Linked DNA regions of Homo sapiens: region 2 is linked to region 1. The links are contacts of gene promoters, found by promoter capture Hi-C in blood cells and fetal thymus (Javierre and others, 2016). All regions are on one chromosome and are shown on one strand. The core of a region is centred on a gene start or on the middle of the fragment in contact, and the rest is flanking DNA. Distances in the headings are between cores, read along the strand shown.

Evidence for each region. The method cuts DNA at HindIII sites, captures the fragments that hold promoters and counts their contacts. A CHiCAGO score of 5 or more calls a contact.
Region 2: a fragment that was not itself captured here is called in contact with the fragment with the promoter of CWF19L2 in region 1 in 1 of 17 cell types (non-activated CD4 T cells); the score reaches 5.2 in non-activated CD4 T cells.

The regions. Positions count from the first base shown.
Region 1 is chr11:107,453,654-107,460,802 of GRCh38, reverse strand. CWF19L2 (CWF19 like cell cycle control factor 2) reads left to right here and starts at 2,978. Exons shown (of 18, transcript NM_152434.3): 1 at 2,978-3,091; 2 at 5,027-5,137; 3 at 6,231-6,353. The coding sequence starts at 2,987. RefSeq lists an enhancer at 2,694-3,199. The HindIII fragment of the contact is 1,493 bases long and covers 2,210-3,702 here.
Region 2 is chr11:125,626,234-125,633,382 of GRCh38, reverse strand. CHEK1 (checkpoint kinase 1) reads right to left here. Exons shown (of 13, transcript NM_001114122.3): 2 at 6,550-6,634; 3 at 5,553-5,776; 4 at 4,087-4,151; 5 at 3,923-3,992; 6 at 32-220. The coding sequence starts at 6,614. Among named protein-coding and RNA genes, the nearest start is that of CHEK1, 4.6 kb to the right of the region's middle. RefSeq lists enhancers at 6,575-6,624, 6,185-6,728. The HindIII fragment of the contact is 1,976 bases long and covers 4,228-6,203 here.

The sequences.
Region 1 (7,149 bases), core at 1,729-4,228:
CTCAGCAAACTAACACAAGAACAGAAAACCAAACACCGCATGTACTCATAAGTGGGAGTTGAACAATGAGAACACATGGACACAGAGAGGGAACATCACACACCAGGGCCTGTTGGGGGGTGAGGGGCTGGGGGAGGGATAGCATTAGGAGAAATACCTAATGTAGATGACGGGTTGATGGGTGCAGCATACCTCCATACCACGTGTATACCTATGTAACAAACCTGCACATTCTGTACATGTACCCCAGAACTTAAAGTATATATATATATATATATATATATATATATATATATATATATATATATATATATATAAAGAATGTGGGTACATGTCTAAAGGACACAGGAACCAGCTTGAAAGGGCTCTCACTGGCCTAACCTGGACCAATTTGAGGATCAAAATAAATACTGATAACGAATTTTTATCCCACTGAACAAAAACAGGAATCCACTGAGAAATTATGAATCTGTATTATATAAAAATAAATAACTTGAAAATTTGGTACATGATCTACATAGTTTCAAAGAACCACTTCACAAAATACTTATTATAGAAGGAAAAGAGGTACTTTACAGCAGAGAAGCTCTGCAGATGCCAGTTTATTTAAATGATCAGAATTAACATCACCTGTAATGGAACAAATGGAAATCATGCGCTACCCAACAGGATGCAGTAAGACCGCCTCACTTCTGTGATCGTCCTGCTTAAGAGGCCAAATTTGAATTTAATCACAAAAGAACCTCCGACAAACCCAAGTTGAGTGACATTCTATAACACAACTATCCTGCAATCTTCATGAAACTTTTGTAGTTAATTGTGATCATCTGACCTATTTCTGGATCATAGGATTTAAATGAAAGAAACTGAACTAGGCTTTAGGAAAAGCCATCATTTTTCTAATAAAAAATGAGGCCAGCTTAGCTAACAACGTTTACCCTTTGTCCTTTCTCTTTATTCTTGTTTATCAGATGCCGTGAACAGATGTGAAAGAATATGATACCCTGCTTGTGACTACAAATACTAAAGTCACAGACTGCAACAAAGCGAAAAAGGATAAACTATTTGGCTCCTTCAGCAATTGCACCAAGCCTGGACCAGTTACTTTTAGGCTCCTTGTTACGTTATCCTTTATTTGATTAAGCCATGTGACTGGATTCGCATTAGGTGTGGCCAAATGCAAACCTAGCCAAAATAACCTGCTTTTTCTTTCTTTTCTTTTCTTTTCTTTTTTCTATTTTAACATATCTAGTTCCCCTCTCTAACCCCAACTTTTTTTTGGGCAGTTTTATTTGTATTGCATGGTATTTACAAATTAATTGAGAAATGATTTTTTATGATGTTTTCTTCTTTAAGCACATAGTATACCTCTCCATTCGTTCTAGTCTTTTTGGGGAGCTTATGCAAGATTTTAAAGTTTTCTTCATATAACTTTGCACATTGCTCTAGACCGAATGTTTGTTTCCCCAAAATTCTTATGTTGAAATCTAATCCCCAATGTGCTGGTATATGGAGGTAGGGACTCTGGGAGGTGATTAGGTCATGAGAGCAGCACCCTCATGAATTCCTATAAAAGAAGTTCTAGAGAGATCCCTCTCCCTTTCCGCCATATGAGACACAGCAAAAATACTGCCCTCTAGGAACCAGGACACACCTTCACTAGACAGCAAATAGCCCAACACCTTGATTTTATCCAGCCTCCAGAACTGTAAGACATACTTGTTTGTTATTTATAAGCCATCCATTCTATAATATTTTGTTATAGCAGCCTGAACTGATTAAAACACACACGTTTCTAATATAATCACAGTTTATTTTTATTGAATTGATGCAAAACAGTGAAATGGATGTTTTTCTGAATTCCAAGAGAATCTGAAAAGACGTTGATGCTAGTTATGACAAATATCAGTCAATGTAGTCAGTTGATTAAATATTACAAGGTCGATTAGTAAATTACATTTTAAAATAAAATGAATACTTTCTATTGCATATCAAACAAGTAGGCATTGTGTGTTCAAGATTCAGACTCATAGAATGGTAGTGAATGTAAAAACTCTTGGAAAGCTTCTTGCAAACACACATTAAATTTTATGAAACCTGAAGAGAAAGAGTATTTACCTCAACCTGGCTTATGTTACTTATTTTTAGCGTCTTTAAGGTATCGTTTATAATTAATTCCCCAGCCTTCTTCTTCTTGTAAATGTAAGCTTAGTGTCTTATGTTCTCAAAGCACTTCATCACCTTAGAATGTCTTATTCTTCTGAACTTAAAAGTTTTATGTTTGGGCGATACATGCGTAAAACAAAACAAAGAAATCTCCGCAGAAATAAATAAGTAACTGTCCATTGTAATGAAAAATGCTTGGATGGATAAGTATGAGTAAATAATATGGGGTCAGAGGAAAAAATATAATGTAAACTTCTAACAAGTTAAGCACGGGTAAATTGTGAAGTGCAATGCAAAATTCACATGAGTGTTTCATATATTAAGTAAAATCCACCAAAACAAAACACTGAATCTTCAAGGCAATTCTGTCCTTCCTGCCAGCTGCCACTACCTTTCTGGCAGCCTCCCTTTATCCCATTCCTCCAGCACAGGGAAATGATGCTCTGGCGACAAAGGGTACTTCCGCAGAAAACTTTTGAGAGGTACCAACTTAACTTCCAAGAGCTTGTAACTTACTCCGGTGATTTTAAGACGAAATTGGTGAGAAAGCTGTTAATATAGTAAAAAGTGCATAATAAATATATACGGGTATTAATCCTGCTCACAATCGCACCCAACACCTGAAAGAATTAAACCCTCCAACACCCTTCGGGTCTTTAAAATCTGGGCTGCGGTAATCCGAGCCCTAAGCGACCTCAGATGTGCGCATGCCCTGTTGGTGGAGCCGTGCTCCTCCTTCCTCGGGTCCGGAAGTCCCGGTTTGTTTGTTAAATTACGACCGTCGTAAACTAGAATTTTCTTGCGGCTTCTTAGCTTTACGATGGCAACAAGTATGGCGGCTGCTAGTGGTAGATTTGAAAGTGCGAAGAGTATCGAAGAGCGGAAAGAACAGACCCGGAATGCCAGGGCCGAGGTGTTGCGCCAGGTACCTCTGTTTTGGGGCTTTTGTAGTTATTTATTGTTGTGGGAGTTGAGGGTTCCCGTAAGCTAGCCCACTCACCCCTTCCCTTACCTCGTCAGTACTGAATCTCACCTTAATTTGGGTGAGTTCTCCCTTTGCAATGCCGGTAAACCCTTTTGTAGCTACCGATTTTTTAGATGTTCTGGCAGGTGCCAGTTGCTAATTCTCTTTTCAGGCAGATCTGTCGCTTTTTCTCCAAGTTTCTTTACCTTTTAAGTTACCCATTCTTTACATTTCTATCACTCGGACTGCACACTTTGTAGGTCCCCTGCGGCTTGTAAGGACTCTGCCAGCATGTCTCGCAGCCTCAGTCATTGCTACTGCTGTATCTGAAATGAGATTTTCCTTTTTCGGAAACACATTCAAGTCACACTTGAATAGACTCAGTTTGACATTTCCTCCTCCTGTCTCTATTGGTATCAATTCCAGACTTACTGTAAGCTCTTACCAATCCAAACAAAAGTTAACACCAATCTCAGTATATTTAGCCTGTCACAAAAGATCGCGAAACATTGTATTTCTCACTAAACTTCAGATACATAGAGGTAACATACAAAGAATGGAGAAAGTAAGCTTCTGAATTATCTGACAATCTATTCAATATGTAAGAAGTGTGGCAATGAAAGAGAAAAGTTGCAGTTGGAGAGCAACAGAGAATTCAGTGAGGGTTTTTGTTTTTATTTAAGTTGGAAGAGTTTTAAACAAGTTTAAATGCAAATGAGAAGGAGCCAGCAGAGAAGAGGGAGAGGAGACTCTAAAGGGAAAATGACATAGTTTCAAAATTTGGCAAATAATTTGAGGGTGAAGCAGCCCCATTCTCCTTTAATCTCCAATTTTCTCACCCTGTTCTTTGGAGTCCATCATAAGCCCTGCTCTTTTCTCTGATATCGATTTTTCTGTTTGGTATATAACCATTGTATTCATCTTCTTGCCTACACCAAGAATTATTATATGCACCCAGGGAAAAGCTAGCTGCAGAATGTTGGACTACCTCTCCATGATTTTCCCTTTTCTGGAATATTAACTCTTCTAGTTCTTGTTGCTTCAGCAGTTCTCTGATATAAACCTTTAATAAATTATTTTTATATTTGATTAAAAAAAAAAAGAAAATGACTACAGCCAGGTTTTAAAGGGGAAGAGTGGGCGATTAGTCTTGGGTAGGTGAAATGTTGGTATTGTTTCGTAATTTCAACATATGTAATGTGTGTGTGTGGGTATATATATATTATTCATTCTTTTCTCTTTGGTATTTCCAGCAGTTTTTGGAGGGAGTAAGTTTCGTAAGTTGAGATAAATCTTATAGTAGAGATATGCATAGAATTTGAAAAGGACCAAACTGAGCTTTGGAGTTACAGGGAAAGAAAGAGGGCAGGAACGATTTCCTAGGAAAAACTTGCTTTGTTTGACTATCATTGAAGAATGGATAAAAATTACCAATATGATCCTTTCTTTATACAGAGATGATTCTTCCTGAGGCATTTTTGGGGCTGGGTATTGGGGCTACAGGCATTGCATATTGAAGGCGTGGAGGTCTAACTGTTGCAAAAGTCTTAAGGCAGTAGCCATGGGAATGGTGAAGGGAAAAGGGATTCCAAGTCATATTGAGCTAGGGAGCTTAGAGAGATGGGAGGGCCTGGACTCAGTCCCTGGATTCTCTCTGATTGGTAACTCAAATCACTGGAGATTGGAAATGCAGAAGGAGAGATTTTTGCTTTGTTTTGTTTATTTATTTATTTTTTTATTTTTTTACACTGGAGAAGCAAATCCCTGGCAAGGAATAGACATTCATTCATGAGTGGATATTTTTGTATAAAAATGACAGAGGTTTTTGTTTTCCTTTTTTTGTGAAACCCAGTTGGGTCAATTGCCAGTTTGTCTTTTTTTTTTCTTTGGTTGTAGGCTAAAGCCAATTTTGAAAAAGAAGAAAGGCGTAAAGAACTTAAGCGACTTCGGGGTGAGGATACATGGATGCTACCTGATGTGAATGAGAGAATTGAACAGTTCTCACAGGTGAATACTAACAGGTTTACGTGATGTAAGGATATCTGTCCTTTTTTGCACGTATTCAAGTTAATATTGGATGAATAATTTTATAGAATGTTTTCATAAGTTACAAAATGAATATCACATAGTTGGCATTGCTGAATAGTTTCATCTCTTTGGCAGAGGTAAGATATTGTAATATTTTGGACATTATGACTCAAGTTTTGTTATTTGAGTTTGGCTAGTAGAAGACAGCTTCAAATTTCTGGCCCACTATAGCAAGCTTATAGGCCTAAAAATTTATGCATTTTAAGCTTTATGTATTTATTTTATTTTATTTTTTTAGGTCTCAAGCCTGTTTTCCTATAATTTTTTTAAAAATTATTTTTAATTGACAAATAATAATTGTGTAAATTTATGGGTTAGAGTGTGATGGTTTGATCTATGTATACATTATAGAAAGATTCAGTCAAGCTAATGAACATATCCATCACCTCATCAACTTATTTTTTTGTGGTGAGAACGTTAAAAGTCTGTTCTTCAATGGCTTTGAAATAGATAATACCTTATTATTAAATGTGGTCATCAGTAATAGATCACTAAAACTTATTTCTAGTGTCATGAAAACTTTGTACCCTTTGATCAACATCTTCCCTTTCCCTATCCTTGCTCCTTCCCCTAGCCTCTTCCTATAATTTTAATTTGTGCTATCTTGTTATATTTTTTATGGCCTAATAGTCTTGTATAAATTTTTGGGGAGACCATAGAGGGATATTATATGTATGTGTGTTTGTGTGTGTATAGATGCATGTATACATGTTTGTGTATATATGTGTTTATTTGATTATATTTGTCACATTAATCTACAAATAAAGCCAAAATTTTCCCAGTATTTTTCTGGTAAGAAGTCTCAGTTATATGATTTATTGATAGTGCATATATTATAGAAGGTGTGTTAAGATTTCCTGAAAGATTTTATTTATTTAGACATATTCTTGGTCTTATTTCATCAGAGATTGAAAGTTTTTTAGAATGTGGTTTATTTTTTTTCTCTCAGAATACATCCTTTTAAATTAAGATGAAATTAAATTATTTTCTTGCCTGTTCAAAATGATTGTAGGAACACTCTGTGAAGAAAAAGAAGAAAAAAGACAAGCATTCAAAAAAAGCAAAGAAAGAAAAGAAAAAAAAGAGCAAGAAACAGAAATATGAAAAAAACAATGAGTCATCTGATAGCTCATCAGTAAGTATGTACTAAAATTAATCAAAGCAGCTATTTGAGAACATTTTATTTGAATGTGTAACTTATGGGAAGTTAAAATACAAGAAAACGTAAAAAATATATTACTAGTTATGATATGAAAATATCTGGGATACATCTACTTAGAGATGTCCAGAAAATATTGGAAATGTTGATCTTGAATTTCAGAGAAAGGCTAAGAGGATAGGGATATGATTTGGGAATTATTGCTAAGCACAGCACTGGATCTTGCCCAAGGCCTGCTGTAACAATTACCTGGCTACAGCTGGTGTTCACTCAAGGCCCTGGGGCTCTGCAATCAGCAGGTGATGAAGCCAGCCAGGCCTGCGTCTTTCCCTTCAGGGTGGCAAGTTCCCCCAGGCCTGAGGGTGGGTCCAGAGGTGCCATCAGGGACCCAGGTACTGGCGTCAAAAACCTTAGACTTGTACCTGGTGTTCTATTGAACTGTGGCTGAGCTGGCATTCAACCTATGAATGGCAGTCCTTCCCACTCTTCCCTTTTCACAGGCAGAGGGGCCTCACCCTGTAGCCACCACCATAGACCCACAGGTAGTACTGGCAGGCTACCACTGATGTTCCCTTAAGGCCCAAGAACTCTTCAGTCAGCTGCCCGGCCTGGGACTCACCCTTCAGGGCAGTGGGCACCCCCTGGGCCAGGGCAGATCCAGAAATGCTATCCAAGAGCCAAGGCGTGGGGCTGGAGACCCCAAGATCCCTCTTGGTGTTCTACCACCCTGTGGCTGAGCTGGTACCTAAGGCGCAAGACAGAGCCCCCTTTA
Region 2 (7,149 bases), core at 3,966-6,465, about 18 Mb before region 1:
AGGAGTTTTACCATGATTAAATAGCTCTTACCTCCAGCGAGCATTGCAGTAAGTACTATTCCACAGGACCAAACATCAACTGGTTCTGCATGAAATTCTCTTCTCTTCAGAAGTTCTGGAGCAACATATGGTAAAGTACCACACATCTTGTTCAACAAACGCTCACGATTATTATACCGAAATACTGTTGCCAAGCCAAAGTCTGAGATTTTGAGGTTATCTAAACCAAAAGAAAAAAAGATGACACTGAATAAAAATGTTTTGCAAATAGATATACTTACAGGAATTAAGTTTTACTGAAAAAAAATCACTGGTGTTACTTAAGGTTTGTAGAACTTCTCTTAAAATAAGCAAAATAGACAAAAAGAAATTTAAAAAAATAAAATAAATCATCATCTATGCTAAAAGTAGAAAAAGGCCTCACCTCTTCTATTAACTTAAAAGAAGTATTATCAACACACAGAACAGTCTGGACCAGATTAAAGAAAGAGGCTGGAGTCAGAAGGGGCTGCCCTTCTGGAAAAGAGCACTCTAAACCTGAGATGAAAGTAAAGCAAGGCCCCTCATCAGGTAGGGTGGAGGGCAGGAAGGAAACATCAGTAGTATGTTAGGCACAACTTTCTCAGCAGCAAACAAACCCAGTTGGCAGAAGAAAATATGTGAAGACACACCAAAATTCAACAAACCACAGTAATTTTTTTCTTCAAAGTAGAGAGTCTGAGAAAAAGAGGACAAACTCTGTACAAAAAAAAAATATCAGAAGACCCAACTTCCACCCTAACTTCCCATCTTCAACACACAAAAACTGCAGGCAGGACTTAACTTATGTTTAGTGAATATCTACTGTAACTTAGTGACAGACACTATGCCAGCCAATGCAGGTAATAGATAAATTAGTGAAGACTGACAATAGAAAACTGTTATGAAGGTTATAAAAATATAGAGCACTATAGGATCTTAGAGCAAAGGAATGTAACCCAGTCTTAAGAGTTAGAAAAGGCCCTCTATTATCAGAGGGCAATTTGGCAAAACATACTAAACTGTGAAACATTCACTCTTTGAACTAGCAATTCCCACTTCTATATCCATAGAAATAATCCCACAAATTCATAAACATAAGAATATTCATAGCAATATTATTTGTAAATAAATGTCCAAATTTGTACAATGGAAAATGTGGAGGTAGGTTTTGAAAACAATCAACAAGGTATATCTATACATACTAACATGAAATAGTGTGTAAGTGGGACAAAAAGGCTAATGGCATAAAAAATATTATAGCATAAAAAATATTATAGCATGACGCAATTTTTATATTGGCCTTTTACACAAATTGATAGAAGCCATCACTGTCCTATTTTATAAGTTAGAAACAACTTAAATGTCTCAAAATAGGGGACTGATTTCTTTAAAAATCAAGTACATTCACACAATATGTAAACCAATGAAATGTTTACCTCTATCTGACTTAGGAGGTAGCTACTGTGATTACCCTTTTTTTTTTTTTTTTTTTTTTTTTTTGAGAAAGTGTCTCACTCTGCTGCCCAGACTAGAGTGTAGTGATGTGATCACAGCTTACTGCAGCCTTGACCTCCTAGGCTGAAGTGATCAATCCTCCTGCTTCAGCCTTCCAAGTAGCTGGGACTCCAGGTGTGCACCACCATGTCTAGCTAATTTTTTTTTTTAATTTTTCATAAAGACAGGGTCTATGTTGTCTAGGCTGGTCTCAAACTCCTAGAATCACTCAATCGTCCCACCTCAGCCTCTGGGATTACAGGCATGAGCTACTGCACCCAGTTGATTATCTTTTCAGTAGTTAAATATGACACTATTGGACAAACCACTGAGATTGAGTTTCAAATTACTTATGAGTAGTAATCACTTAAAATACTAATGGATAACTATAGTATTCCTTGGACTTTGTTATGTCTGCAACATAATACTCAGCTATGTTAGAGAACTGCACATAATAAAATTTAAATGTAGGAATGTGTTTAGCTCTTAGAAAAACAAAGGAAGAATATATTTGTGATGAAATAAACAGGAGGACATTAAATACTGGTAACATTTTATTTCTTTTTTTAAAAGACTCCTAAATATTAAATAGAAACAAAGAATTATATCTTGTATATTAATACAAGATATAAAGAATAACAATGTAATAAACACCCACTCACTTTAGAAAAACAATGCTCTATTTCCTTTGAAATCTTTAAATACTTCCTTAAATACATTCCCTCCCCTACTTTCTTAGACCATTCTGAATTTGGTTTTATTATACCCTTGCTTTTCTGCATGTTTTTTTCTCCATGTTTACATACTTGAACAATATACTAGGTTTTACATATTTTTGAACTTTGTATAAACAGAATCAGACCATATGAATTCTTTTGCAACTGTCTCTTTTTGCTCTACATCATTATATACCTGAAATTCATCCATGTCACTGCTTGTGACATGCTTGTGTCACTGCTTGTGACATGGCTTGAAAAGCCATGCATTTCATAATTTATTGTTGACAGACATTTGGGTTAGTTTCCTGCTATATTAAAAACATCACCACTGTGAGCATTCTTATATACGAATAATGTTGTATTTTTAAACCAGGTGGGTTGATATACATATATTTACATTTCATTATAATACATAAGAATTTTTGTGTACCTGAATTTTTAAAGTTTTAAATAAAAATAAAGATTTTTATGTCATATAAACTCAGTTTAAAGGGGTAAAAAGTAAAATCCATATGCACATAAGAAAAAAGCATGTATAGGCTGGGTACAGCGGCTCACACCTATAATCCCAGCACTCTGGGAGGCCAAGGGAGGCAGATCACTTGAGGCCAGGAGCTCGAGACCAGCCTGGCCAATATGACAAAACCCCATCTCTACTAAAAATATAAAAATGAGCCAGGTGTGGTGACTCAGGCTTGTAATCCCAGCTACTCAGGGGCCTAAGGCACAAGAATCACCTGAACCAGAGAGGTAGAGGTTACAGTGAGCCGAGATCATGTCACTACACTCCAGCCTGGGCAACACAGCAAGACTCTGTTTCAAAAAAAAAAAAAAGCTGACCATTTGTTAAGCACTATTCTAATACTAAGAATAAAGCATTAAACCAGACAAAAACTACTGCCTCATACAGCTGACATTTCTTTTTTGATTCTGACCCTGTAAGCTTAAAGCTTTCGCTATCCATCCTTCTCAATTTGATGACATTCAGAAAATATAACTAAATTTCTTACATTTTTATCCACGTCATACATAAAAAAAGAGTGAACAGGACAAGACTAAGGTCCAGGGTATTCCACAGGAACTTCCCTTTATTAATCCATTAAAGGATTATTTTAAACTATTCTTGGCCAGGCATGGTGGCTCACGTCTATAATCCCAACACTCTGGGAGGCTAAGGCTGGTAAACTGCTTGAGTCCAGGAGTTCAAGACTAGCCTGAGCAACACAGGAAGACTCCACCTCTTCAAAAAATCAAAAATTAGCCAGGCATGGTGGCACCTGCCTGTGGTTGGTCCTAGCTACTCGGGAAGCTGAGATGGTAGGATTGCTTGAGCCTAGGAGGTCAAGGCTGCAGTGAACTGTGATAATACAGTGCACCCCAGACTGGACAACACAGTGAGCCTGTATCAAAAAAAAAAAAATTATTCTTATACATATAGTGAGCTAGGCTTGCACCTAGGTCAGATTTCTCTACCTGATCCGCACTTGTATTGCAAAATGAGACTTGTGATTTCCAAATATACGAAGTCTCCAAAATTTCCTTGATTTTTCAGATCTTGTCTTGAAATTCCAGTAATGCAAAAAGACTTGATTTTGCCTTGTATGGCTATATTAAAATAATTAGGTAATTAAAATAATTTAGGTAATTATTTTATTTTATTTTAGGTAGTGATAAAATGCTAAACTTACCCCTTTCATCCAACAGAAGATTTTCTGGTTTAATATCCCTGTGAGTTATTCCAATACCATGCAGATAAACCTAAGAGGGATGCAGAGAGAAACACACTAGAATTTGGTAATGTAATGTATTCACTCTAATTTTAAGTAAAAGGGAAATAGACAACTATACCTACCACCCCTGCCATGAGTTGATGGAAGAATCTCTGAGCATCTGGTTCAGGCATGCCTATGTCTGGCTCTAAAACAAATATGAAAGTAAGTTTATTGACTAAATATAATCAGGTAGCAACCACATAGCTTCTTAATTTGAAGCTTAGACATTTACAAATGTGCTTAGGCAAACAGAAGCAAATGCCAACAAAAGATTCAGGAGTCCACTAACACATATGGGGCTTAACTCACATTTACCTGTGTTAGGTGGCAAAAGGCGTCATCACAGAAAAATTATAAAGAGAAAACCAATATCCAAATCAAGAATGCAAGCCATGACTTCAAAGCCTCTGCTTCCTCTTATACTAACCCTGATTTATTTAGTAACCTTGAAATTCCCCCCATTTCTTCTAAATGCTATGCTAATTATTTTTCTCATTCCTGAAATATAATGCCAAAGGGGAAGTCTGGGCAAATCTAAGCCAATTTCACTAAATATTTTACAGATTATACTTCTTTTATAATTTAACTTTTTTTAGAGATACGGTCTTGTTCTTTCACCCAGGCTGGAGTGCCCTGGCGTGAGATCATAACTTACTGTAACCTGGAACTCTTGAGCTCAAGCAATCCTCCTGCCTCCTAAGTAGCTAGGATTGCAGGCATGTACCACCACACCTGGCTCAGATTTAAACTTCATATAGTCTCACAGTACAAAACCACAAATGCCTGTGAGGTCCTTCGTGAAACAGTTTTATTATGAAAGTTCTTTTATCAGTTATCTTTTTATATTTTGATCTCTCTCATTAACTCCATTTCTTTTACCCTCAACTCTCTCCTGAGTCACACTGGAGATCCTAATACCTCTTTATCAGTTTTTAACTGATAAACTTATTTAATACAATAGCTTTAAATTATAAATTTAAATTATAAATTTAGATCCAGATTTTATGTACTTCTCAGTGTTCTGAAATATCAATCCTTTGATTCTACATCGAATATTTAAGTATTAATAGCAAACATAGAATTTACTTAATATACAAAAAGCAATCCTAGAAAATTCTCAATTATTTCATGTAAACCAAGAGGAAACAGCATGCTATTTTAGATCTGTAAATGTATAAAATGTATACAATGATTTCATGTAACTAGAATGTCTACAAAGAAAAAATTGTGTAGGCAATACATTGCATTTAGGATACACTGCATTTATGATGTACCATAAAACTTGTTTGTCACTCTTAAATTCTGTAAGACACCAATCTTAAATCAAAATCACTTATATAACTTGGGAAAGAAGTTTTCTTTCATTGACTCTATATATGCTTTTATGTTATTAACACCAGGTGGAAAAATTTTTTAAAGATAATGTATTCCAATTTCACAGTTGCATGAGCAATTTTGAAAGGACAACGACCAAATAGCATGCCCAAGATTTAAAAAACAAATTTAAAAACTTGTTTAAAATAATTATCTTAAATTTCTTCCATACCTATTCTGTCAAAAAGCTCTCCTCCACTACAGTACTCCAGAAATAAATATTGGATATTGCCTTCTCTCCTGTGACCATAGAATTTTACTACATTTTCATGATTTAGCATTTTATTGATACAGATCTCTTTCTTAATATTTTCTGGACAGTCTACGGCACGCTTCATATCTACAATCTTCACTGCGACTGCTTCTTCAGTTACTCTATTCACAGCAAGTTGAACTCTAAAAAGGAAAAGAGTTTTAACATTACAGAATTCCATTTCTTCTAAAACTTCCAAAGATTAAACATGACTCATCCAAAACGATTTTACCTCTATTACTTTTTCCACAAAGGAGAAACCAAGGAAGTGGTTTCTGCTATGTTCTCAACACACACTACTCTTTTCTAAAATGTGAAATACAATAGCTAACCCTCCAAAGACGTCATTATGCTGTCACACAAGTCATTTAATAAACGCTTCATAAAATAGATTGAGATAATTCTAAGCCACATCACATATATACATGTTCTACTCATATACTTTTAAGAGCATTAATCCCATACTATATGTGCTTGTGTAACTGACTGTCCTAAGCTCCTATGGGGTAGATGCGATTATTGCCACCCTAAAGGTAGTGAAGGAGAGGTACACAATGACATTAAGAAGCTTGCCTAAGATCACAAAACAATGACCAGTATGTGATAGAGCAAGGATCTGAAACCAGGCAGGCAATCTCCAGAGTCTGCTCATTTGCTCATTAACCGCAATGCTTAAACCCTGAGAAGCAATTTGTGGGCATGGAAACAATAACTTCGTGTCCCTTCCAGCTCTCTACAAAGAAAACTTTTTTTTTTAAAGGGAAGGAAAAAATTTTTAATCCTAGCAAAAGGCTGTGTAACTTCAGTTGCCAAAACCCTTGGATCTCAAACATCTACTTTCTAAATCACCAGAGTGTGAGACTCCAAAACAATGAATATGCACTCAGAAAACGAAGGCAAGCTTAAAAGAACTCACTCTCCATAGGCACCTTCTCCCAGGGTTTGCACCAAGTCCCAGTCTTCCACAAAGGGCACTGCCATGACTCCACCGAGCACCTCGGCTGTAAAAGGCAGGAATCCAGAAAAGATGTAGAGTGTAAGATCACCAGTGAAGCCACTGAGCCCCGCCTCTCCCCAGGATTGCCCACGAAAATTAACAGCTCTTGCCTTCCCCTTCTATCTCATCCACATTTATCCAAGTCTTTCAACCACGAACAACTATTCTAAACCTGACCATTTTGTCGTGTAAATCACAATCGCCACTCCCAAGCACACCGAAGGTTGAAATTCTGCCCTCCTCAGGCCCCAGAGGAAATTAATTGTTGTTATGAAGAGGTGGGAGACAAATGCTTTCCGGCGAACGACTGGGGAAGGAGGAGGGAGAGGTGGGGGTCTGGGGAAGAGAGGAAGAGGATATAGGGAGCGGTATGGGGCAGAAAACGCCTGCGGCAGCGCCTCCTCCCAATTGCTCAATTCCAATTCCCATCCCCATCCACAGCCCCACCCGTCCCAAAGGCCGGGGCGGGGCCAAACTGCCCCCAGAGGCGAAAGGAAGGGCTGGGACTCTTCCTTGGGG